Regions from separate parts of the Homo sapiens genome. Here regions 1 and 3 are each linked to region 2. Evidence: promoter capture Hi-C in 16 types of primary human blood cells and fetal thymus (Javierre and others, 2016). All regions are on one chromosome and are shown on one strand. The core of a region is centred on a gene start or on the middle of the fragment in contact, and the rest is flanking DNA. Distances in the headings are between cores, read along the strand shown.

The links. Contacts are between HindIII fragments. The CHiCAGO score rates a contact against its expected background, and 5 or more counts as called.
Region 1: a fragment that was not itself captured here is called in contact with the fragment with the promoter of RNF138 in region 2 in 2 of 17 cell types (total CD8 T cells and total CD4 T cells); the score reaches 8.3 in total CD8 T cells.
Region 3: a contact is called between a fragment that was not itself captured here and the fragment with the promoter of RNF138 in region 2, in 1 of 17 cell types (total CD4 T cells). The highest score is 5.5, in total CD4 T cells.

The regions. Positions count from the first base shown.
Region 1 is chr18:35,029,106-35,031,805 of GRCh38, forward strand. It overlaps a transcript of MAPRE2 not described here. Among named protein-coding and RNA genes, the nearest start is that of MAPRE2, 11 kb to the right of the region's middle. The HindIII fragment of the contact is 1,685 bases long and covers 535-2,219 here.
Region 2 is chr18:32,090,559-32,093,258 of GRCh38, forward strand. RNF138 (ring finger protein 138) reads left to right here and starts at 1,316. Exons shown (of 8, transcript NM_016271.5): 1 at 1,316-1,677; 2 at 2,142-2,328. The coding sequence starts at 2,219. LOC124904278 (a long non-coding RNA gene) reads right to left here and starts at 1,387. Exons shown (of 2, transcript XR_007066327.1): 1 at 1,297-1,387; 2 at 717-944. It also overlaps a transcript of RNF125 not described here. RefSeq lists an enhancer at 1,015-1,064 and a silencer at 1,735-2,154. The HindIII fragment of the contact is 10,157 bases long and covers 1-2,700 here.
Region 3 is chr18:35,051,564-35,054,263 of GRCh38, forward strand. All of the region lies in intron 1 of MAPRE2 (microtubule associated protein RP/EB family member 2), which reads left to right. Among named protein-coding and RNA genes, the nearest start is that of MAPRE2, 12 kb to the left of the region's middle. The HindIII fragment of the contact is 2,526 bases long and covers 117-2,642 here.

The DNA.
Region 1 (2,700 bases), core at 127-2,626, 2.9 Mb after region 2:
CTAAGCACTTGAGGAAACAAAACATAAGCTCTAATTAAAACATTTCTGATGGGAAACTTAGTCTTACTTCATGATTTCCAGTTGCATTTTTTTTCCTAATGAAATAAGCTGCTTTAATTTTCTTTTTAAAAATTTTATTTGGATGAGGTCAGAAAATGAGGAATTTCTCTTCCATTACTCACACTGCTTTCCAGCTGCCGGCCTCATGTTCCCTTGACACGCTGTCGAGGAGCCATCCAGAAGCCATAGCTCTGCCATGGTACACACCAGACTTGACAGAGAAGTTCCAGGCTCAGGAAGACGCTTCCTTCCAATGTCCCTGGTTGCCACTTGATGGCCTGGGTTCTGAGTAGCTCTGGAACTCTGGAAGTCCCTGGTACCTGATGGAATGACCATTGCCCCACTTTCTCCTGACTTCCTTTGTATGTATATTAAGGAGTTGCCACTCAGCTTGCACTCTTTAATATCAAAGTCAGAAATAAAGCCCAGTGAGTTAGTTGATTTTTAAGAACCCTAAGGAAATCTTCTCTGGGAAGCTTCTGAATCGTCTGCAAGATAATTTATTTGTTAGCAGTACTTGGAGTCTCTTCATTTCTCTTGCCACCCAACTGAGCCCAAGGTGCCTTTTAATCCCTTTTAGCTGTCCTATGCAGTCACTTCAACAAGATGCATTTTATTTTAAGATGGAAATAAAATAGAGAAAGGAAATAGAGGAATTTCATAAAATTGGACATAGACACGTTTTAACGAGAGCACTCAAATAGACATGTCTGTATCTGGATGGTTGAATTATAACAGTCTTGGCATAGTGAAAATGAAAGCAGATTGTAGCTTTGAATACAAATACCAAAAAAATGCCTGCAGTTTCCTTTCCCTCCAGAAGGTATCAAAGAAATGGACATTGCTAGCTGACGCTTACTGAGAAATAAAATAGCTAATCACTATATAAGGACAAGAAAATTATTTTTTTCTCTATCAATCACATATACTGCTAACACCAAATCCTAGCATTTCTTCCTCCTTCCCCCTCCCTTTTTCTTAACCATAATTTACAGCTCCTCTCCCTCCATTTCTTTCAATCTCTCACCCTCATGGATACTGCTATCCTGTACAGCCTCCCATCCCTGGGTCCTTTTTATTCTCTCTGTCTCTCAGCCCTTGTATGTTTTTATTTCCTTGCTTCCTACACGGAAGTGCCGTTTTATGGCAGCAGTCTCTTGCCTCTGCAACCATCAGCTATCTCATCCCTGCCACTCCCCACCCTGGATTCTGCATTCTTCCTTCCAGGTTAATCAGACCTTAGTGGAAGGTAGACTGAGCTAGGGAAAAAGAATGACATGTTTGACATCTGGCAAGTGTGTTTGTGCTCAGCTCTGCCACTTCCTGTCTGGTTATTTGGCTAAGTTATTGAACTAGTTACCTCCTGTGACAATTGGGACTTAGAATAGCCCCCTTTCTTGTGAGAATAAAGTACCTCCTCATTGTTAAGCATAGCACTTGGCCCATAAAAAGTATTCAAATATTAGGTGTTGCTATTAATGTGATTAGAGAATATTCCACATCTCTGTTGCCACTACTAACACTCCTGCAAATGCCTGGTTTCTAACTTTGGTTTTAAGCCAAGTTCTTTACAACAGACTTTAAAAGCCCTGCACATTCTGGTTTCTCTGTGATCTTTCTGACCTTATCTTCTACAGTTATCTCTCCCATCCCCACAATACGCACACATTCACACTCACTGTGCTACATACATGTGACCTGACTTCCTTAATGTTTCTTGAACAAATCATGCTCCTACCTCAGGGCCTTTGCACTTTCTGTTGGCTCTACCTGAAATATTCTTCTGATATCACAGGTCTATGTCCCTCACCTCTCTCAGGTCATCGATTAAAGATTATCTTTTCAGGAATGTCTACCCTGGTCACCCCATTTAAAATTACAACACCCTTCCTCTGCAGTCCAAGTCCTCCTTCCTTGCTTTAGTTGTCTCTATAGCATTTGCCACCATCTGACACACTACATATTTTACTTATATATTGTCTGTCTCCTGACCCTACCACATACACTTGCTCATACACTCAAGTGTAAGTTCAGGGAATTTTGTCTACAAATTTCTGCATCTCTGATGTCTAGAATTGTTCCTAGCACATAGTAAGTTCTCAATAAATATTTGTAGAATGAATGATTGAGGACTAATTAAAATATTACTATCTTAATGAAGCTTTTCTAGTGTCCCCAGGCCTGACTACTTTCTTTTCTATATTCCTAATACTTAATACACTTTTCATTATAACTTTTATCACATTGTATTTTTATGGAAAACACATTTAAAGCTCTTAAATTTAGCCAGATGGTATAATTCAAAAGTACATTTTTGTTTAATAGACTGAAACCTCACATTGTACAGATTTGATTGAATGATTACAGAAATCATAATGCTCTGAGTATTTTTAAATTGCATTCACATCATGTTCTATGAGTTATTCTACAAAATTAAATCCAAGCTTGAGAAAATCTAAGAAAAAGCAGATTAGAAATAAATTCCAACACAGAGAGAAATCTTGTCTCATGCAATGGCATGTTCTGTGTTTTCACATCATGGACACCTTGCTATTTTGCTAGCAAGTATGAGACTTAAAAATTCTGCCTTTTGAGCATAAATAATCTGCAAAGACAAGTAATCTCAAAAGTCAATTCTAG
Region 2 (2,700 bases), core at 66-2,565:
ATTTCCTCCATAAAGTTTTCTGTTAACTCTATATATTTCTAATCATTCCATTTCCTATCCTCATTATAGCCATCGTTTAATGCAAAATTTAATACTTTGGCAAATACCATTTTTTCTCTCTCATTCTGATAGATATGTAATAATGTAAACAGGTTGAGAGCAAAGTTCATGACATCTGCATAACACCTAACAATGCCAATGTCAACATAGACAATAAATGGCAGAATTGATTTAAATAGTCCCTTAAATGGCTTCTGTTTATTCATTTAGACCATGGGGGAGGGTTTTAACAAAGGATGGTAATAAAACCTTTCTTTTCTCTGAAGCTAATTGTAGATGCTGTATAATGTTCCAGATTTTCCTTAGCTTCTTTCACGTCATTGTGGATCCCATCTTATCGATTTATCCTTTTTTTGTTCTTCTTTTTTTTTGAGAGTCTCACTCTGTCGCCAGGGCTGGAGTGCAGCGGCGCGATCGCGGCTCACTGCAACCTCTGCCTCCCGGGTACAAGCGATTCTCGTGCCTCAGCCTCCCGAGTACCTGGGATTACAGGCTCCCACCACCATGTCCGGTTAATTTTTGTATTTTTAGTAGAGATGGGATTTCATCACGTTGGCCAGGCTGGTCTTGAACTCCTGACCTCAAGTGATCCAACCGCCTTCGCTTACCAAAGGGCTGGGATTACAGGTGTGAGCCACCGCGCCCGGCCTTTTTTCTTTCTTTTTTTTTTTTTTTTTTGAGACGGAATCTCACTCTGTTACGCAGGTTGGACCATCTTATAGATTATCAATTGTACAGATAATTGCACTCCGGCCTGGGAGACAGAGTGAGTACCTGTCTCAAAAAATAAAATAAAATAAAATAAAATTAAAAAAAACACTTAAATTAGTGAATAACCTTGGTGAAAAGCCACGTCCATGCTTCTACGGCATTTCTCTTCAAAGCTAAAAAAAAAAAGAAAAAATCAAAAATCAACCCAAAGGTGTAGTAGAAGACTGCATCTGCGACCGTATTTAAGCATCGGTCATGCTGTTAAAGGAGAAAGTGGACATCCTCTCAAGGAAACTTTAATCCTGCCCCCAAAGGATTAAAATCCCGTAACAAATATTTGTTTATAACACATCTTGACAAGATCAAAACATTCTGGTAGGGCAAATAGTAAAGACTAAATCTTGAACATTGACGAAAACTTCCTGAAAGGCCCAATGTATTTGACAGGAGAGGTAACTGGGGTCCCGGGCCTAGCGAGGCGGGGCGGGGAGGCGCAGGTGTCACCGCGGGCGCCCAGCTGCTTACGTCACAACCCGCGGAAGGCGCCGTGCGCCGGTTGCTATACAGGCCGCACTTCACACCCCGTGCCTCCCCGCCTCTCCTGGCTCCTCCGCCCAGATCCCCGGCGCTCCCGCGTTCGGTGACGGCCGGGTAGGCTGTAGGCAGCGCAATGCCAAGACAGAGCTGCTGGCGGCGGCGGGCGAATCTCCCTGCACCATGAGCCTCGGCTCCGGCCCCGTTAGGGGCCGATAAGCACAGCGCACGCCGCCCTCCATTTGCCCCGGGGCCTCGGCTGCGAAGATAGCGGCGGCCGGACAGGAAGCTCGAGGAAAGCGCTGGGCCGGGTCTCTACGAACACGTGAAGGAAAAGCAGCTCCGTCCACAACGCCGCTTCGGGGCTCCTAGGTGAGAGTCTCCCCGGCGGAAGCGTGGAGGGGCCGGGGTGCCGGGAAGCGGGGCGGGGAGGAAGCCGCGGACACGGGCTGGGCACTCGGGGCTCGGGGTCGGGGTGAGTAGAGGCGGAAAAGCAGTGAAAAGGGAGGCCTTGGGCGAAGACGGGGGCTGAGGGCGGGGCGCGAGCCCGCGCCTGGAGCCCGGTGAGGGCGTGGCCTAGAGCGTGAGGCCGCGTCCTGGGGCGGGGTGAGGGGCGAGCGGGGCGGGCCCACGGCATGCTGCGAGCCCAGCCTCCCGCCAAGCACCGTCCCCCATCCAGCCCCCTGTGGGAGGAGCCGTGGGAGGGGTCGCCTCTTGCCCGGCGCGTGCGGCAGTAGCGTCTCTGCGTTCGGCCCCGCCCTACCCAGGGCCCCGCCCCCTTCCTGGCGCGCGCTGTATCCTGATGCGATCCCCCTCCCCCCTCCGGGTTCATGTAGGGAGTCGGGCCCCGGGCCGCCACCGTCACCTCGGCCGCTGCCGCTGTCGCCATCGCCTTGTTTCCCCATCCCCCGCCATGGCCGAGGACCTCTCTGCGGCCACGTCCTACACCGAAGATGATTTCTACTGCCCCGTCTGTCAGGAGGTGCTCAAAACGCCCGTGCGGACCACGGCCTGTCAGCACGTGTGAGTAGACGCCCCCTCCCCCTCGCGGAGCCGGGTTGTCGCTTAGGCCCGGCCTCCGGCCCGGGACCCCGGGCTGCCGCCTGGCGGGAACCGAGCCCGCCGCGGCCTGCCCGAGCGTCGCTGCCCCGCGAGGTCCCGTTCCCCGCCCCTCAGAGTCCCGGGGCGGCCTTTTCCTCAGCCTCGGGGCCCGCTCCCCGCGTCCAGCCCCCTCAGCCCAAGCTCCCGCTCTCCCGCTCTCCCGCTCTCCCGCTCTCCCGCTCTCCCTGGCTTTCGCGCCCCCGGGGCAGTGGCCAGGCCGTTCCCTGCGGCGTCTTCAGGCCCCGGAGGCCCCTGTCGTCTCCGCCAGGCCCGGGAGGAATTGCAGGGATCTTG
Region 3 (2,700 bases), core at 130-2,629, 3.0 Mb after region 2:
AAAGGGAACCTGGATTGTCCCCTACCTCCTTTCCTAACCTCCAGGAGGACCAGTTGGGGTCCTCAAAGTGCACAGCCAGGAAGTTGCTTGAAGAGGCAGTGAGGTATAGTGGGCAAAGCTTGGCTCTGGTGTGAGACTTTTACTTTCTGTCCCAGCTCCATCCCTTTCTAGGGCAACATTTTTTTAGCCTCTCTAAGCCTCATTTTCTTACCGTGCATATGGAAATAATAGTAGCATCAACTTCCCAGGGTTCTTATGCAGATTAAATGTGTTACAGAACATAAGGTGTGCCAAACGGTGCCTGGTGCAAAGTAAATGCCTCAAAGAATGTTAGCTAGTATTATTGCTTGCAGCTTAAATCTACTCTTTTACCCTGTATTGATAAAAATCTATAATCTTTTTGTTCTAAGTACCCTGTACAATACTTTGCACATAGCAGATGTTCATTAAAAGTTCAAATTGAACCTGGAAAAAAGTCAAACAAATTATACTACAGTCTTTTTTCCCCCTCATCAACTTTATTAAGAATTTATGTACAGTAAACTGCAGCCATTTAAAGTGTCTGAGTCAGAGTTTTGGCAGTGTGTCCACCCTGAAGCCATCACCACAGTCAAGATGCAGAACATTTCCATCACCCCCAAAAGACTCCTTGTACCCTTTGCAGTCCAAATCTTCTCTGCCCAAAGCCCCAGGAGCCAGTGATCTGCTTTCTGTCACCACAGATTAGATTACATTTTATATAAATGGGATCACAGAGAATGCACTCATTAGTGTCTGACTACTTTGACTCAGCACAATGATTTTAAGATTCATCCATATGGGATGTCTCAGTAGTTCATCACTCTTTATTGCTGAGTAGTATTTCATTGTATGGCTATACCATATTTTGTTTATCTGCTCACCAGTTGATGAACATTTATGTTTCCAGTTTTTAGGAATTATGAAGCAAGTTTCTATGAATATTGTTATACAAGTCTTTGTGGAGGTGTTTTCATTTCTCTGGGGAAAATACTTAGGAGTGGAGTGATTGGGTCATATGGCTGGTGTTTAACTTTTTGAGAAACTGTTTGGCAAACAGTTGTCCAAAATGGTTGTACCATTTTACATTCCTAGCAGCACAGTATGAGAGTTCTGATTGTTTCACATCCTTGGCAACACTTACTATCAGTCTCTTAAATGTTGGCCATCCTTATGGATGTAGAATGGTATCTCATTGAGATTTTAATTTCTATTTTCATGATGACTAATGATGGGTATGTTTTCATGTGCATATTGGCCATTTGTGTGTCTTCTGTAGTAAAGTGTTCAAATCTTTTTCCATTTAAAAAAATAGGTTATCTTTTTAAATAGAATTATACACATATGTTTTGCATAATAATATAGTCTTGAATTGTATTTTAATATGTACAGGTCTTATATTCTTAACTTGAATATAAAGTCCCCCCCACACACACACACAAAAAGACCTAGTCTTTGTTCACAATGACTTTTACAGCAATTAGTTACATGGTCCATCCTCAGTAAGTACATATTAAATGAGTCTATTTAGCCCGGGCACTGTGGCTCATGCCTGTAATCCCAGCACTTTGGGAGGCTGAGGTGGGTGGATCACTTGAGGTCAGGAGTTTGAGATCAGCCTGGCCAACATGGTGAAACCCCATCTCTACTAAAAATACAAAAAATAGCTGGGAGTGGTGGCACTTGCCTGTAATCCCAGCTACCTGTGAGGCTGAGGCAGGAGAATCACTTGAACCCAGGAGGTGAAGGTTGCAGTGAGCCAAGATCACGCCACTGCACTCCAGGCTAGGCAACAGAGCGAGACTCCATCTCATAAAAAATAAAATAAAAATAAAAAAACAGTATTTAATATGTAAATAGAGGGTAAAATAGTAACAGAATAATTATTTTAGCTGAGAAAAAAAAAACACTGAATCTACCTTAGAAGTTTTATATGAACATGTTACATTTGGGAGGTAGTCTTGGTAGATAGGAGATGCTCTTCTAGTTCTGTGGAGAAGAACCCTATAATTAAGACATTCTTTTCTTTGTATTGTGTGTCCCCTTCTTGCTAGATTCCACTATTAAATTTAAGAGGAAAGTGTGCATAGAAAATTTTTTTTCTTTAATTGTAACAAGGATACCATATGTTCTCACAAGTGGCAGCTAAATGATGAGAACTAATGAACACAAAGAAGAGAACAACAGGCATTGGGGTCTACTTGAGAGGGGAAGGTAGAAGGAGAGAGAGGAGCAGAAAAAATAACTAATGGTTACTGGGCTTAATACCTGGGTGATGAAATAATCTGTACAGCAAACCCCCATGACATGAGTTTACCTATATAACAAACCTTCACATGTACCCCCAAACCTAAAGTAAACATTTTAAAAACTAAGTAAATGAAAAGAGGGAGGAAAAATAAATGTAACAAGGAGCCATTTGCATGCTTCCAAAATTTTGCCAAGAATAGCCAAAGCGTTGGATGCCCCCCTTTTAAAAATTTTTGTGGTGAAGATCCCTAAACTTGATCTCTTTCCATTCCCATTCCATCTAATTTGGCAGTTTTGTTGTTGTTTTGCTCCTGACTTCTCTAACTCCCTAAGAAGAAATTGTCTCAAGTAAAATTTAGAGACTGGGAAACAAAAGCTTAGTAAGGTCATAGGTTTGCCTAAAAGGATCGACTGAGGGACCTCGTTTTGGAG